Linked DNA regions of Homo sapiens: region 2 is linked to region 1. Evidence: promoter capture Hi-C in human tissues and cell types (Jung and others, 2019). All regions are on one chromosome and are shown on one strand. Each heading gives the region's core, a stretch centred on a gene start or on the middle of the fragment in contact. The rest is flanking DNA. Distances are from core to core; before and after follow the strand shown. Region 1 holds the start of DOK6 (docking protein 6). Region 2 has its middle 41 kb from the start of DOK6.

Region 1 (5,061 bases), core at 1,380-3,879:
CATGGATAATAATGGTTAAGAATCAAGCCTGCCTTTCTTATAGGGTGTCTATTTCAGGGGAATTCTCTAATTTGTGAGGGAAAGAACTTTTGTTTATGTGTTTGTTTTTTAGAAGAGGGTATATACTCATAAACTCAAGAATAAAGATAAATTAGAAAATCACAACTTTGCAATCCCTAATGAAATAATGTATCTAAGCAATGATCATCAGTGGCTGCAAAAACCACTAGTTGGAAGGTTGGTGGAGAATTTTATAATTCTACAATTTCATATAATTTATATTTTATAATTTTATAATGTATGGATGAGTGTTGACAACACTTTAATCTTCTAATCAATTGGACAGCTAGATATTTTGTTCCTTTGGTATGATTCAGTAGAATATACACAGCATCTTTTATTAATTATTTTGAAAAAAAGGAGAATGCAGGTAAGTTTCTAAGTCACATTAGTAGGAAACATGGGACTTGGGTGAACATATTTAATTGATGCTATGCAACCAAATCCAGAACTGGGAAAATTTACATGACAGATAACCTACTGCTTTCAAGAAGCAAATAAAGATCATAAAAAGAGGGACACACATACATAAAAATTGCTGTATCACAAATTTAAAAATAAAAGATAAATGAGAATATTGAAGTCATGCTAGGGTGTTACAAAGACGTTGATAAACATGAATGTAGGCACAGTGATCACATACATAATCATTAAAAGCTACGATTATTGATCACACCTGTTACTTATGTAAGCACTAAGATTGTTGCTGAGACAAAACTAATCCCTGACTTCAAAGAACTGATAATTGACTTGTGAAACAGATGATTATATAAATAGGAGAAGGAGTCAGTGGTCATAGAAATCACTGTAGACCTCAAATCAATCTTGAAACGTGTGGCTCTGCAACTGAATGTCTGTGAGCCTCAATTTCCTCTAGTAACTGGCAACCACATTTAACATATGTGGTTGCAAAGAGGGCTGAATGAAATCACTTATTTAAAGCATTTACAAACCTAAAGCAGTCTTTACATTTCTAAAAAAAATGGCCATGCAGCGTATGAAATAGTAAGAAGTGGGTGGAATAGACAAGCTGTGCCAGGTATTTAGAGGAAAGAATTACAAGGAGTTATCAGAGAGTTTATGCAAATTTTCTGAGAAGGTCAGAGCTTGAGCCCATTCCAGGGAGTTTATGCAAATTTTCTGGGAAGGTCAGAGTTTGGGCCCATTCCAGAGTGACAGCGGAAAGGATTTTACCATGTTATCCTTAGTATCTGATCTGCCCCAGCATCTGGTACTTTGCACGGTGGAAGGTTTTTTTATTTAAAAAAAAAAAAAGGCTAGCCCACATTAATGAATGAATAGGAATAGTGTGCTGTTAAAGCAAGTAAGAATTTCCATTGGTTTACACGGGCTCTAGATGGAGATTTCTGCAAAGGATGAGACAAAAATCTCCCTTGGATGCTCATCTGGTTGGACTGAGCTACCTTGTCCTTCAAGTTTTTACATTCCCCCCACAACCTCATTCAAGTAAGTTTCCTTTCTTTCTATTATTGTGTTTCAAATGGGGTAGGAAATTTTAAATGAGAACCTGGAAAAATACTGCTCACCGTAATAAACAAACATCATCTTTTGAACTTTTACTAAATATAACTCTTGCAGGAGTCACCTTAAAAATTGTCAATCTTTATACATTTTACTAATTAGAAACATCCTTAGAAGTAAGTACTAAATGTTCTAGCCTATAGTAAAAATCCATATGTTGCCTCCGGCCAAAACTCAACATCGCTCTTTTTCCTCGAATCTTTCACAAAAACATAATCCTAAAAATTAAAACATCTTTACAATAATGAAAAACCTACTTTTAAAATGCCATGTGTTTCTACATTAAGGGGAGAAAGTTTTTCATTTTTTGTTTGTACAAGTTGAGCATTTCAGGAAGTCATTGGTATCCATTGATAACAACCACGTTCTCCATTTTCCCAGAAGAGCCAGGAGCCACTTTCAGTCCTAGTTAACGAAAACGCATGCATAAATCAACCACTCGGGTCGGTCGGTCTTCTCCACTCCTTCAGCAGAGGACGTCGGCGCCCGGCTGCCTCGCCCGCCTGCCTGTCTCTAGGCTGCGGGAGGATTAGACACATGCGCACGATTGGTCTCTTTGTGTGCACCAGGAAGGGTCTGGCGTCGATTTACACTTCCTAACGGGGCAGAGACCTGGAACGGCCGCGAGTGCTTGGGAATAAAAATGTACTGTAAACAAGGCCAATGAAATAAGTGTCTCGCTCCCGCTGGCCTTCCGCGTTGGAAGTGTCCCCACTGCCCTTTCCCCGCTGCACAGCTTGCGAGTGGAGATTTAGAGCCCGGGAATGAGGCGCCGTGTCCTTAGGAATCTCGCGCCCGGGGAGCGCTGAGGGACCGGGGAGCCGGGTGGGGAGCGGGCCTCGGGGCGCCCGGCGGCGGAGGCGCTCCCACCCGCGCGGAGAGGGATGGAGCGCGTCTTGCGAGCGTCTCCGAGCCCAGCCACCCCACGGGCCAGGGGGAGGGAGCGGGGCCGGCGCATCAGCCCGCCCCCCCCGGCCCGCCCCCTCCCCCCGCGCCGGGGAGCCGCGGTGGTGCGCTCCGGCCAGCTGTGCGCCGCCGAGCGAGGCGCCAGCCCGTGGGTGCTGCCGGGGGCGGCGGCGCGGTGGGGGCTCCCGCAGCTGGCGGAGGCGCGGGCCGCGGCGCTGGGCTCGCGGCGGGGAGCGAAGGTGAGCGCCAGAACGCGGAGGGCTGGCGCGGCTCGCGGCGCCGGGCCCCGTTCCCCGTCCGCGGCGGCCCTGCAGGCGACCCCGCGTCCCCACCGGCGGGAGCTCGGGGAAGAGCGGGCGGCGGCGCTGCTGCTGGCGGCGGCCGGCTGGATGCGAGACCCGCGCAGACCCGGCGGCGGACGGCGGCTCTCGACTCCGGAGAGCGGATCGCGGGGCGCAGGAGCCCGATCGCGCTGGCCATGGCCTCCAACTTTAACGACATAGTCAAGCAGGGCTACGTGAAAATCCGCAGCAGGAAGCTTGGGGTGAGTGGCTCGCTCGGCTTGCTCCTTCCCCGGCGCTCGTTCGGCCCGGCTGGCTGCCTGGGGGGGGGGCAGGGAGAGGTGACCCGTGCGGGTACAGGGCAGAGAGGGACCCGGCCCTTAGGCGGATGGCCCGCTTGTTGCTTGGCCAGGTGGGGGCCCACACCTGCCGGGGGGCTCCGCAGACGGACCTGGGGACTCCAGGAGCGCCTGAGTCCCCATCCTCGAGTGCACCGGGCTGTCTTCGACCGTGCGGGGAAGTCAGTAGACGAAAGGGGTTGTCAGTTCCAACGAGGAACGTGCCTTGGAGGAGGTTTCTTTGCGGTGCTATCCACGATGGTCTGTTCTCAAAAGTGTGCGCCTTTCGGGTGGAACTGCTGTGTGTGGCGACGCTCGCGTGTGTTTAGAATCACCATTTTCTGGTCTCCGCTTCCCAAGCTCAATTCGAAATTCCCGTCTGATGCCCTCCCAGCGCCGCGCGTCCCTGCCGGCTGTAGTTTAGGGCGCCTTCGCCGTGGCCGAGGGCGGCTCCCGCGCCCCGCAAGTGCTCCCCTACCCGGGGACCCGCGCCCGCGTGCAGGCAGGTGTGTGCCCCGCGCCCGCCCGCGGTCACTGCTCCGTGACGGCAAAGTTGATGGAGACCTTTCCCTATTCTTGAGAGATGCGCTGCCTGGCTTGGGAGGGAAACCGTGTAGAACCCAAGGGTTCAAAACTATTCTAGTGACCAGACGAGGCGGTAGGAGGGACTCACGGGAGGCAGCGGGACAGGAGGGGCTGTCACCTGGGCGGGAGCAGCCTAGACTTGGGACGCGAGAGAGAGGATGGAGGGATGGGCAGGAGGTCCCTGGGGAGCGCGCGATGTAGGGTGGCCTGGGAGGCTGACCCCGGCTGGCTGGTCCAGAAAAGCGAGGGGAAACTCGTCTGGGAAAGAAAGGGCCCCTGTTCCAGACTCTGGTTGTGTCTACCTCACTGTTCTCCAACTTCCAGTTCTACCAAGCTCCTGCCTCCCGGGGCAAAGGGTCCTTGAGCTAGAACCTTTCCTGTGTTCCCTGATGACTGGATGAATCCTCCAACTTGGAGAAGGGGAAAAAGAGGGGAGGACTTTGCTAATTTTTGTGTAAAAAAGAAAGCAAAAGAAGGGTAGTGTTAGAGAGTGGAAGAAAGATAAGGTAGAATCCCCGAAAGAGGGCAGATCACCAAGCACCAGGAGTCGCTTTGTCGGGAGTTGGCGGCGCCAGGTGTTGGGGACAGGAGGACGGGAAAGGCAGACTTGACTCTTGGTGCTGCCTCTGCTGGGTTTCGCATTAAAGGTGCAGACTGTACCCCAAGGACAACAGGGGCCCATTCTGGAACTTCAGCAGCTCTGTAGTAGGCTGGGAGGCTGCAAGAGCGAGTGCGGAGCTGGGTGACAGCAACGCCCCCCTTCCTCCAGCCTGGAGCCAACGTGCGCTGCCGTGAGCCCCACCAAGGCGAGAGAGAGCAGGCGCCAGAGTCAGATCCTCGGCCAGGTTTCAAGGGCTTTTCTTGGGTAGAAGAAAGCGCCTCATTCTTTTCCAGGCATATAAGGACGAACCCACGGGAAAAGCTGCGGTTCTCCAGGAGTCTGGTTGTTCCTCGCAGCCGGGACGGAATGCTCAAGTCTGTCACCACACAGCTGTCAGCCAAGGGAGGTGCAGAGCTGGAGGTGGAAGGGAGTCGTCTTCTTAGCTTGACCTTTGAAGCCCTTTGCTTTACGACTGGATGCTTGATCATTTTTCTCGGCCTTTGATCTTCTTGAAATCGCAATTGTATCTGATGCCTCAGACTATATAAACTAATGGATGAGTTAAGTCCCAGACAAGATGTATGTCTGCGTTCACAGAGTCACCTGCATATGAAAATGAGACTGAAGAATGTAGCCTGAGCATCCCCTTCCTGCGCACTTGGCCCTGGAGTCTATAGGATTCCCCTCCACCCCATCCAAGCCCTCCAGGATTTCACACAACAAAAACTGAGTATGTAACCCAATTATA
Region 2 (5,061 bases), core at 770-3,269, 41 kb before region 1:
GATAGATGGATAGGTAGACATAGATATAGATATGTATATTTGTATACATACATATTTGTGTGTGTTTCAATCTCTTCAATATTTTTGCCTGTGCTTTAGGATTTTTGTTGTTCTTGTTTGAGACAAAGCCTTGCTCTGTCACCCAGGCTGGAGTGCACCGGTGCCATCTCGGCTCACTGAAACCTCTACCTCCTGGGTTCAAGTGATTTTCATGCCTCAGCCTCCCAAGCAGCTGGTATTACAGGTGTGCACCACCATGCCCAGCTACTTTTTCTATTTATACTGGAGATGGGGTTTTGCCATGTTTCTTGGGCCAGTCTCAAACTCCTGAGCTCAAGCAATCCTCCCACCTCAGCCTCCCAAAGTGCTGGGATTTCAAGCACGTGCCACTGAGCCTGACCTTGCCTGTGCTTTAAATAATGTTTGCGTTTAATCTACCAAACAATTACCATACTTGAACTTATCAGCCACTTATTTAGTTAGAAATTATTTGTTTTTTACTCTCTAGAAATAATGTTTGTGTGTATGTGGGTTCCTTTTAAATCTTTTTAGGCATTCTCACTATTTTTCTCAGGCTGCTTACTTCTTCCAGCAGCTTTAATCTGCTCTGTGTGGTTTCCTTGTGTTCTGCCCTCAGGCTATCTGAGAGAATTTATATTTCTCTGGAAATCCATTAAGGATGAAGTCCAGAGAGTACCCTAAGTGTGATAGTTCCTCAGTGGTAGGAGTTCACACAAGATTCTAGGCAGGGCCTGTAAGCTAGGCGTTATCAGACTATCTATCCAAATTTTGAAGCCCTTCCTATTCTCAGGCTGTTTATATTTTCCCAGGCTCAGCTCCCACAAGCTCCGTCTTCTCAGTGTCCTCATGACTAGAACGATCAGACACACATACAGTGGTTTGAACTCGACCTTCCTTTTTTTGATGACACAGATCACTGTGGATAAAACTCTTCCCAAGATTTCTAACTTCCTATTCCCTTCCCAGTGTCTTCCAATACTCGTCTCCAGAGATTTGTTTATCCTGCAGAGAGAGGAACAAAAGGATGATACTGGCTTTTTCCAAGCAACCCACAGAAAGGATCTCAAAGCTTCACGTACATTTAGCAACCCCTAAGCCTTGACCAAAGATTAGCCAGAAGATGAGAGAGATCAGAGTTGTCATGAAAGGGAAGGAAGTCTCAGTCAGCTCAACATAGTTCCATCATGCCCCCCTTGAGGACACTGGGCTTTTATTCCTTTTTGTTTGTTTTTGGCAACATTATCACAAAGCAAACTTTCCACCAGGGCCATAGAACATAGTTGTTAAGAATTCAGTCTCTAGAGTAGGATTACATGGATTCAAGTCACAGTTCATCTACTTACCATCTGTGAGATCTACACTTCATAATTTAAACTCTGTGTTTCTGTTTCTTCTTTAAAATGTGAATAGCAAAACTTACTGCTCACAGCCTTCCATAAAAGATCCTAGAATAAAGATCACACCTCTGTAGCAGATTCTAAACAGTTTGAGAATAAATTACCACTATGTATGTCAAAACATCAACTTATAACTAAAGGTCGATTGAAGTGTGTATCTTGGTAAGAAACAGATGTCAAGTAAACCTCAGAATTAAACACATTTAACAGCCATTTTCCAGCAAAAGAAAATATGGCATCACTGTGGGCAGCTGATGCGTAAAGGACAAAAGGGTGGTATTGAATGATGCACACCTAATTATGTTTCCCAAGTTTCCCAGTTGATTAACTTTCTCCACCTCTCTGTGGGTGGAAAGAATATGTGCCATAGTTTTAAGTCATTTAGTGAAAACCTCTCCTCATGACCACAAGAGAAAGCAAGAAAAAGTGTTTCTGCTGTCACACTGAGGTTAGCATATATCTGAGACAATTTCTGTTCTGGAAATTCTTTGTGCCTAATCATATCCCTGTTGTGAAAAGGGACGTGGCTCTTCCTGAGGTTGGAAGAGAGCATGGCCTCCATCTTCCATTCACTAAGTTGTTTCTTTTAAACTCAGCCCTGGTCCTGTGGATGCCTTTTTGGGACTTGTTCTGGGAAGATTAGATTTAGCCCCTGATATGGTTTGGCTGTGTCCCCACCTAAATCTCATCTTGAATTATAACCCCCACAATTCCCACATGTCATGGGAGGAATCTGGTGGGAGGTGATTGAATTATGGAGGTGAGTCTTTCCTGCACTGTTCTTGTGATAGTGAATGAGTCTCACAAGATCTGATGGTTGTAAAAATGGGAGTTTCCCTACACAAGCTCTCTCCTTCCCTGCCACCATCCACATAAGATGTGATTTGCTCCTCCTTGCCTTCTGCCATGATTGTGAGACCTCCCCAGCCATGTAGAACTGTAAGTCCATTAAACCACTTTTTCTTCCCATTCTATGTCTTTATCAGCAGCTTGAAAACAACTAATGCAGTAAATTGGTACTAGGAGTGGGGTGTTGCTGAAAAGATACCCAAAAATGTGGAAGGGACTTTGGAACTGGGTAACAGGCAGAGGTTGGAACAGTTTGGAGGGCTCAGAAGAAGACAGGAAAATGTAGGAAAGTTTGGAACACCCTAGAGACTTGTTGAATGGCTTTGACCAAAATGCTGACAGCAAAATGGACAATAAAATCCAGGCCGAGGTGGTCTCAGATGGAAATGAAGAACTTGTTGGGAATTGGGGCGAAGATGACTTTTGTTATGTTTTAACAAAGAGACTGGCAGCATTTTGCCCTTGCCCTAGAGATTTGTTTTGAACTTGAGAAGGGCAACTTAGGGTATTTAGTGGAAGACATTTCTAAGCAGCAAAGTATTCAAGATGTGACTTGGATGTTGTTAAAGGCATTCAGTTTTATAAGGGAAGCAGAGCATAAAAGTTAGAAAATTTGTAGCCTGACAATGCCATAGAAAAGAAAATCCCATTTTCTGAGGAGAAATTCAAGCTGGCCACAGAAATTTGCATAAGTAATGAGGAGCTGAATGTCAGTCTCAAAGACAGTGGGAAAAATGTCTCTAGGGCATGTTAGAGATCTTCACAGCAGCCCCTCCCATCACAGGCCCAGAGGCCTAGGAGGAAAACATGGTCTCCTGGGCCAAGCCCAGGGTCCCTGTGCTGTGTGCAGTCTAGGGACTTGGTGCCCTGCATCCCAGAAGCTCCACCCATGGTTAAAAGGGGCCAAGGTACAGCTTGGGCTGTGGTTTCAAAGGGTGCAAGCCTCATGCCTTGGCAGCTGCCATGTGGTGTTGAGCCTGTGGGTGCACAGAAGTAAAGAATTGAGGTTTGAGAACCTCTGCCTAGATTTCAGAGGATGTATAGAAATGCCTGGATGCTCAGGCAGAAGTTTGCTGCAGGGGCAGGGCTCTCATGGGAGAACCTCTGCTAGAGCAGTGTGGAAGGGAAATGGGAGGTTGGAGTCCCCACACAGAGTCCCTACTGGGACACTGCCTAGTGGAGCTGTGAAAAGAGACCATCATCCTCCAGACCCCAGAAGGGTAGATCCACCTACAGCTTGCACTGTGGACCTGGAAAAGCTGCAGACACTCAATGCCAGCCCACGAAAGTAGCCAGGGAGGCTTTACTCTGCAGAGCCACAGGGGCAGAGCTGCCCAATATCATGGAAGCCCATCTCTTGCAACAGCGTGACCCAGATGCAAGACATGCAGTCAAAGGAGATCATTTTGGAGCTTTTAAGATTTGACTGCCCTGATCATGAGGTCAAGAGATCAAGACCATCCTGGCCAACACTGTGAAACCTTGTCTCTACCCAAAATACAAAAATTAGCTGGACGTGGTGGTGCACACCTGTAGTCCCAGGTACTCAAGAAGCTGAGGCAAGAGAATTGCTTGAACCCAGTAGGCAGAGGTTATAGTGAGCTGAGATCGCACCACTGCACTCCAGCCTGGTGACAGAGCAAGACTCCATCTCAAAAAAAAAAAAAAAAAAAAAAAGATTTGCCTGCCCTGCTGGATTTCAGACTTGCATGGGGTCTGTAGCCCCTTCGTTTTGGCCAATTTCTCCCATTTGGAATGGATGTATTTACCCAATGCCTGTATCCCCATTGTATCTAGGAAGTAACTAACTTACTTTTGATTTCACAGTTTCATATGCAGAATGAACTTGCCTTGTTTTAGATAAGACATTGGATTGTGGACTTTTGATTTAATGCTGAAATGAGTTGAGACTTTGGGGGATTCTTGGGAAATCATGATTGGTTTTGAAATGTGAAAACATGAAATTTTGGGGAGGGGGGGGTCAGGGGAGGAATGATATGGTTTGGCTGTGTCCCCACCCAAATTTCATCTTGAATTGTAACTCCCACAATTCCCATGTGTTGTGGGAGGAACCTGATGAGAGGTGATTGAATTATGGAGATGAGTCTTTCCTGCCCTGTTCCCATGATAGTGAATGAGTCTCATGAGATATGATGGTTTTAAAAATGGGAGTTTTCCTACACAAGCTCTCTCTTTGCCTGCTGACATCCACATAAGATGTGACTTGCTCTTCGTTGCCTTCTGCCATGATTGTGAGGCCTCCCCAACCATGTGGAACTGTAAGTCCATTAAACTACTTTTTTTTTTCCAGTCTCAGGTATGTATTTATTGGCAGCTTGAAAATGGACTAATACAGCCCCTCTCAGGTCTTTACCATGAATCACAAAAATACATTCTGAAAATCAATTCCTCAGGCATCTCATTTCCATTCTATTTCTTCTCGTATTAAAACTCATGTCCAGCCACAAAGTACTGTGAGCCTACAAGTAAGCAGTAAGATAAGATGCATAAACACAATACATAAATTCTAATTAATAATGTCAGCTGAGATATTTCCCCAGTTTTAATCCCAGGCAATTTTCAAATTTCCTGGAAGAAATTAAAGGTTAAATATTTAAACATTTTTCAAGTTAAAATCTAAAGATAGAAAGTTTGAAGCAATTAAAATCAGTTATCTTGTTTTTAGAAGTTTAAAATCTAAAATTTAAAATTCTTATGTTATAATTAAGTCAAAATATTATCCTCCCAAATTTCTTACTCAATTTCATCTCACTAACAGGCATTCTTGATGACT

What was found. Contacts are between HindIII fragments. The study calls those that stand out against the background at their distance.
Region 2: a fragment that was not itself captured here is called in contact with the fragment with the promoter of DOK6 in region 1 in 1 of the 25 tissues and cell types used here (aorta).

The regions. Positions count from the first base shown.
Region 1 is chr18:69,398,259-69,403,319 of GRCh38, forward strand. DOK6 (docking protein 6) reads left to right here and starts at 2,630. Exons shown (of 8, transcript NM_152721.6): 1 at 2,630-3,052. The coding sequence starts at 2,987. The HindIII fragment of the contact is 8,036 bases long and covers 1-4,268 here.
Region 2 is chr18:69,357,531-69,362,591 of GRCh38, forward strand. No RefSeq gene overlaps it. Among named protein-coding and RNA genes, the nearest start is that of DOK6, 41 kb to the right of the region's middle. The HindIII fragment of the contact is 4,729 bases long and covers 1-4,384 here.